Linked DNA regions of Homo sapiens: region 2 is linked to region 1. The links are contacts of gene promoters, found by promoter capture Hi-C in blood cells and fetal thymus (Javierre and others, 2016). All regions are on one chromosome and are shown on one strand. Each heading gives the region's core, a stretch centred on a gene start or on the middle of the fragment in contact. The rest is flanking DNA. Distances are from core to core; before and after follow the strand shown.

The links. The method cuts DNA at HindIII sites, captures the fragments that hold promoters and counts their contacts. A CHiCAGO score of 5 or more calls a contact.
Region 2: a fragment that was not itself captured here is called in contact with the fragment with the promoter of BUD13 in region 1 in 1 of 17 cell types (naive CD8 T cells); the score reaches 5.4 in naive CD8 T cells.

The regions. Positions count from the first base shown.
Region 1 is chr11:116,770,199-116,774,347 of GRCh38, reverse strand. It overlaps BUD13 (BUD13 spliceosome associated protein), which reads left to right and starts at 1,361. Exons shown (of 10, transcript NM_032725.4): 1 at 1,361-1,526; 2 at 4,126-4,149. The coding sequence starts at 1,384. It overlaps ZPR1 (ZPR1 zinc finger), which reads left to right. Exons shown (of 14, transcript NM_003904.5): 14 at 1-549. BUD13-DT (BUD13 divergent transcript) reads right to left here and starts at 877. Exons shown (of 2, transcript NR_186226.1): 1 at 837-877; 2 at 143-438. RefSeq lists an enhancer at 813-902 and a silencer at 1,023-1,222. The HindIII fragment of the contact is 6,866 bases long and covers 1-4,149 here.
Region 2 is chr11:126,205,333-126,208,470 of GRCh38, reverse strand. It overlaps RPUSD4 (RNA pseudouridine synthase D4), which reads left to right. Exons shown (of 7, transcript NM_032795.3): 4 at 2,690-2,783; 5 at 2,859-3,003. Among named protein-coding and RNA genes, the nearest start is that of RPUSD4, 4.7 kb to the left of the region's middle. The HindIII fragment of the contact is 1,248 bases long and covers 1,265-2,512 here.

The sequences.
Region 1 (4,149 bases), core at 112-2,611:
TGGTACAAGTTTTCAGTTTTAAGACAAGTTCTGGGAATCTAATGTACAACATGTTGACTATAGCTAATAATTCTGTATTGTTTACTTGAAGTTTGCTAAGACAAATTTGCTTAAGTGCCCCCCCACCGAACTACTACATAAATTAGTGAAGGATGTTTTACTTAATTTGATTTTGGTAATCATTACACAATGTATAATTATATCCAGTCATCACATTGTACACCTTGAATATATATAATTTTTTGTCAAATAATAAAGCTGGGAAGAAAACGATAAAACTGACAATCTAACATATATGATGAGGTAAAAAGATCTGGTATTTCAAGAAATTTGGATGACCTCTTGCACCCCACTTCGCTAGCCTCTACTCCCTAGAGTCATGTTCTGACTATGTGAAGTTGAGCAACTTCCTTAATCTTGCCACGCTTCAGTTCTTATCTGTAAAATATGATAATGAAACGATTTGAGAATTGTGAGGGTTAAATGAGATAATTCAGGTAAAGCTCTAAACCCCCTGCAAAGAATAAAGTCTTTTCTTTCCCCCCAAAACTTGAGTGTTAGAATTCATTCTCTCTGGTTTCTCTCTTTTACTATGCTAAAAAATGATCCAGGTCCGTCCTTCTCATTGGCAAGATTGTTTTACAGTTTCCTTCAAGAGATAACTGGGGGCTACTTGTAATAGAACACTAGAAGAGTTACACAGGTCTTAGAAACTACGTTTTTCATAGTAATTATGTTGGTTTGCACTTCCTGGCTTCCTTTCTTGGACGGTAGGTACCTGGAAGCCTAGTGGAGCAGATTCCCCCCACTTAAAGATACTTATAAAAATAACGAACATAGTTCCGATGACCATGTGCCCAACACCGCTCTGCGCACTTCACACAGTAATATCATCTCAGCCTGTGACCGTTCCGAGTTAGGTGCCGGGATTCTCCCTGTTTTGTGATAACTTGCCCGAGGTCGTACAGCTAGCCAGCTATGGAACCAGTATTCAAACTCGGCTACGCTGCAGCCCGTGGCCCTCCACTTTCTTGCTCGTGCTCTGGAGTTTAGGCGGCCGATGGGGGCGGGGTCCTTTGGGTCAGGTTGTGGCCTCATAGAACAGCGCTTGCTGCGGTTGGATGGATGGGTGGGTGGGTGGGTGAGTGAATGAAGAGAAGAAACCTGGTGGCGTCGTCCCAGGGCTGTGGAGCGCCCCGAAGGTGCGCACGTCCCTGGCTAGCCTGCGAGCGCGTCCCGGTGGCCGCACCTGCCAGCCGCGCGATTCTTAGCACTCTCCGCCACTTCCGGCCGTGGCCCCGCCCTGTCGGGTGGCTGGCGTCCGTTACGCGTTGAGGCATTTTGTCCCCAGCGCCGACCCGTCTCTCTGCCCCCGCCGCTGCCATGGCGGCAGCTCCGCCGCTTTCCAAGGCCGAGTATCTGAAGCGTTACTTGTCCGGGGCAGATGCCGGCGTCGACCGGGGATCTGAGTCCGGTCGCAAGCGTCGCAAAAAGCGGCCGAAGCCTGGCGGGGCCGGCGGCAAGGGGTGAGTTGGTACCGGCCGGGGCGGGGCCTGCGACGTCTAGCCACCCCTTCCCAACTCCGCCCTCGGCCGCCCGGCAGTTCCTTCCCTCTTGGCGGGTCTCTCGGCTTCTCCGCCGACCCCTGCTCATGCTCAGGGCCCCACTCACATCGCTTGAGGCCCCCCGCCTTGCCTCTGCCGCCCCGCTTACATCTCGAGCCTCTGAGCAGTAGCGTCAGTGCGTTAAAGCCGGGGTGTAACTTTGATTACTCTTTTCCCGCCTTGGTAGACTTCCGTCCTCTCCCATAGAGAATGAATATTGTGCCTCGAGAATAATGGAGCGGATTCAAAGCCTCTGTGCTTGGATCTTTAGGGCCCGGTACCTGCCTGTGGGGATTCCCAGATCCCAAGGACTTGGTTCTGAATCAGAGACCTTTGATCACCTCCTGTTACTCTTAGTAATAGTCCTAACGTGAGAAGCTAACATTTATATAGTTATACTTTTCTTGCCAGGCACCATTATAAGAAATTTAAACATATATAAGTTTATTTAAGCCTCACCACACTACCATGAAGTGGGTATTATTTTCATATGGGACAACTTTGTGGCCCAGTGTAGTGGGCCCTACCAAATCGTTTTCCACCCAGAACCACAGAATGTGACATTTAGAAATAGGGTCTTTGGAGATGTAATCAGTTAAGATGAGGTCATACTTGATTAAGGTGGGTGCCAAATCCAAGATGACTGTTTGCCTTTTAAAAAGAGGGAAGTATGGATACAGACACAGCAACAAAGGAAAAACGACCATGTCTAGATGAAGGCTGAGATTGGATTGGATTTATGTTGCCAAAAGCCAAGGTATGCTTGGGGCTACCAGAAGCTGGGAGAGGCAAGGAAAGATTCTCTGCTAGAGACTTTCCAGGGAGGATGGCCTTGCAGACACCTGGATTTCAGATTGCTAGCTTCCAGAACTGCGAGAGAGTTTCTGTTGTTTTATGCCACGCAATTTGTGGTACTTTGTTACAGTAACCCTAAGGCACTGAGATACCCAGTGAAGTCACATTGTTCTAAAGAACTAGTCCAAGTTCTTTTCTGGTTTGGTGCTTGCCTTATTATTGTCTTCGTCTTTCTGCCTCGCTGACTTGTGTGGATCCTTTGGAGGCAGTGCCATGTGATGAAAGTAGCTTGAGTGTTGGAGCAGCACTGGTCAGAGTTCGAATCCTAGCTGTGCCACTTTATAGGCTGTGTACCCTTGGGCAAGGTGTTTCATCTCACTGAGCTGCAGTTTCCTTATCTTTAAAATGAGAATAATAATAATAATGGTTTTATTAAGTGGTGGTTGTGATTAGAGGGATTGCATTAAGTGACCCTGGCTTTTTGAATAACTTCACATCATGGCAGTCATTGTTATTATTTGGGCTCAGCTATATAGTTTATCCACGTAACAAACATTTATTGAATATTTCGTATTCCAGTTACTGTAGGGTGTTGAGGATGCCTCTGTGAACAAAAAAAACATAGTCCCTGTTCTTGTGGAGCTTATAGATTAATGGGAATACAGGCTTTAAGCAACTAATTACACAACTAATCGATATATTTTCTTTATGATAAATGCAATGAAAGTATTCCAAGAGTTTTTAACAAGGGTTCTTAGTCTTGAGTGAGTGTGGGATGGTGAGGGAATTGGGTGAAGCAGTCAAGAAAAGTTTGCCAAAGGAAGTTAAATTTGTGTTAGGACCTGAAGAATGAGGAAGAGTTTCCTGGAATGAGAAAGAGTTTCCTAGCACTTTGGGAGGCCAAGGCGGGTGGATTGCTTGCATCTAGGAGTTTGAGACCAGTCTGGGCAACATGGTGAAACCCTGTTTCTACAAAAAATACAAAAAAGTAGTCAGGCACAGTGGCACATGCCTGTAGTCCCAGCTACTTGGGAGACTGAGTAGGGAGAATAACTTAACCCCGGGAAGTCAAGGCTGCAGGGAGCCATGATGGTGTCCCTGCACTCCAGCCTGGGCAGCAGTGTGAGACCCTGTCTCAAAAAAGAAAAAGACTAGGGCCGGGCGCGGTGGCTCACGCCTATAATCCCAGCACTTTGGGAGGCCAAGGCGGGCGGATCACGAGGTCAGGAGATCGAGACCATCCTGACTAACACGGTGAAACCCCGTCTCTACTAAAAATACAAAAAATTAGCCAGGCGTGGCAGTGGTCGCCTGTAGTCCCAGCTACTCAGGAGGCTGAGGCAGGAGAATGGTGTGAACCCGGGAGGCAGAGCTTGCAGTGAGCTGAGATCGTGCCACTGCACTCCAGCCTGGGCAACAGAGCGAGACTCCGTCTCAAAAAAAAAAAAAAAGAAAAAGATTGAAAAGAGTAGATCAGGCAGAGGGAAGGAACTGCATATGTGAAAACTGATGTGATAGGAACTTGGCTCCTTTCTAAGCACCAAAGGATGACCAGGGAGGTGTTCAACCAAGGAAGTAGCAGTAGGAGATGAAGTTGACCTTGTAGACAAAGACTGGACCATGCAGGATCCTGTAGGATTTTGAACTTTATTTTAAAACCAATAGATAAATGTTTTTATGCTGGTATCCTAGAATGACTCTTTTTGATCTTCTTATTCTCATTTAGAATGCGGATTGTGGATGATGATGT
Region 2 (3,138 bases), core at 639-3,138, 9.4 Mb before region 1:
TGTGACTGGTGTCTTCTGTAAACTTCCAGAGTTATCGAGCATATATAAGCATATTACTGTATGCTAGTGTATTTCACACAGAGTTTTGTACCCTACAGTTTTCACTTGGATCATATATCTTAGAGCATTTTGTGTCATACGTTTAGAGCTGTCTCCTTTTTAATTGCTCTGTGAAATACCGCTGTATGGATGGATATTTAGGTAATTTCTCATTTTTTAGAGCCTATTGCAAAGAATATGTGAATGTATTTTTAAGATAAATTTCTAAAAATTGAATCGCTGGGCTGAATGGTTTGTATATTTAAATTTTAATAGTACTCACATTGCTCTCCACAAAGGTTTTTTATCAGTTTACATTCCCACCAGCAGTGGTGAGTACCCACCTCCCCTTATCAGCCAAAGCATTTTTAAAGGGTTTGCCACTGTGATAAGTTAAAAAAAAAAAAGATATTTTCTATTTCCTTGTATAACAGTGATATTGGCTATCAATTTACATGTTTTTTACATGTTTATTGGCTATTTGAGTTTCCCTTTTGGGAACAGACTGATTATTTCTTTTGCCTATTTTTCTACAGGGTTGTTTATTATTATTATTTTTTTTTATTTAAGACCGTGCCTGGCCTTTTTTTTTTGAGATGGAGTCTTGCTGTGTCACCCAGGCTGGAGGGCAGTGGCACAATCTTGGCTCACTGCAACCTCCTCCCTGGTTCAAGTGGTTCTCATGTTTCAGCTAGCTGGAATTACAGGCACATGCCACCATGCCCAGCTAATTTTTGTATTTTTAGTAGAGATGGGGTTTCAGCCTGTTGGCCAGGCTGGTCTTGAACCCCTGACCTAAAGTGATCTGTCCATCAAAGTGCTAGGATTACAGCGCTTACAGCTCACAGGCGTGAGCCACTGTGTCTGGCCCAGGTTGTTTATTCTTTTCTATTTGATTTGTAAGTATTCATTTTATATTTTGAATGTTAGTCCTTTTTAGATTACAGATTTTGCAGATACTTTGTGAATCTGAGGAGCCCTTTAAAAATATGTATGATTGAGACTTACCCACAGAAGTTCTCATTCGTAAGTGTGGTGGTTGTGGGGATTGGCATCTGTATTTTAAAATTTGATATACAATCAAATTTAAGAACTATGATAAGATTATGGAGAATGGAGGAATTTAGGACAGTAGCTAAGACCTCAAAAAGATGTGTGTTCAACTCTCAACTGTGTCATTTAACAGCTGTGGGGCCTTGGGCAGGTTATTAAATGTCCATAAGCTTTGTTTTCTTCATCTGAAAAATGGAAACAGTAGGATTTATGAGATAGTTAAATAAGATTGATTCTTGTGAAATGTTTAACACAGTACCTAGTTCATAGGAAAAGTTAAAAAATAAAAAATAGAGACTTATTTTTCTATTCAAGCAATCAAAATATTAAGACTATAAAATACATGTTATGTTATTTGTGAAAAATGTCCATTAAGGTTCAAAATTGGTAACCATTCTCGGTATCAGGTTCATGGAGGAATTGAAATCAATCAGTTGGGTCTTGCTGATGGAACATTCTTGAGTTGTAGTGTCATATCATTAGGAAGGACATTCTTGTCACAGAAGATCTACAAAATCTGTAAAATACGATAAAATGTACCAGATAGTAGCTGAAACTGAAGTGGAGTGTCTGCGTTGTGAAATAGTGTGTGTGAGTAGGATTTTGACCCCGTGGTTAGTGATTATACAACCGACCACCAGGTACCCAGATGGACTTTTCCATCATTGACCTGAAAGAGGCATAAATTTACAGACAGATTAAACAGTCTTCTACCTGTCTGTGAGGTCATGAGGTCATGGGAGGGAGAACACCAACAGAAGTGATTTGGAATGAGTTATTGAGTTGTGGTTGTGGTACCTATGACTTCTTTCTTTCTTTTTTTAGACGGAGTCTTGCTGTGTCTCCCAGGCTGGAGTGCAGTGGCATAATCTTGGCCCACTGCAACCTCCACCTCCTGGATTCAAGCGATTCTCATGCCTCAGCCTCCCAAGTAGCTGGAATTACAGGCACGCGCCACCACGCCTGGCTGATTTTTTTTTTGTATTTTTAGTAGAGATGGGGTTTCACCATGTTGGCCAGGCTGGTCTTGAACTCCTGACCTGAAGTGATCCACCCGCCTTGGCCTCCCAAAGTATTGGGATTACATGTGTGAGCCACCACGCCTGTCCCCTGTGACTTCTTCGGGTACAGTTCCCTCCTGTTTTACCTATGTGGCAAATGAGCCAGGAACGGTTCTCTGAATGTTTTATTAGGTTCATTCATCCAATTATTCATTTGTTCATTTACCATGCAGTCAGAATCTACAATCTTTTATTATTTGAAAAAAAATACAAAACTATATTACCATAATTTTATTTTAACTGTACATATCCATTTTTAAAGACTGGAAAGACCATGTTATTAATGTAATTTTTTTCTTTTTTTACCCCAAATATTCTACAATTAGCATGTATGACTTTAGTAGTAAAAAAGATAAGCTTGTGAAATCTATCAGCTCTCAGGCTAAGCATTACACCAAGAGAATCTTGCACGATCCTTCAATCATAAGAAATCACATGTTAGTGCAGAAGGTCCAGCGTGAAATCCTCTAAGTGGCCAAATCTAGGAGTTCTTCTCTGGCTTGGTTGGCTAAAGCAGTGATCTGTGTCACCCCCAGGGCCATCACTGTGCATGTCCCCATGCCCTCAGCAGGAGTCGTGGACATCCCCATTGTGGAGAAGGAGGCGCAAGGCCAGCAGCAACACCACAAGGTGAGCGAGCAGCCTCCCTGAGGCATGGGTTGCTGCTCTTCCTTGGGAATCATATCTTGATTTCTTTGGCTTCAGATGACATTGTCCCCGAGCTACCGCATGGACGATGGGAAAATGGTGAAAGTGCGGCGCAGCCGGAATGCGCAAGTTGCTGTAACTCAGTACCAGGTGCTCAGCAGCACTCTCTCCTCCGCCCTCGTGGAGCTCCAGCCCATCACTGGTGAGAGTGTCACTTTTCCGCAGTGGGATCACAAAACCCTGTGCCACCAGGTTTTGTCCAGGGCCTCGTTCTGAGCAGCTAGTAGTGTGGCTGACTTGTGTGAGAATGTGCTTCTGGTGCTGATCTGAGGCCGGG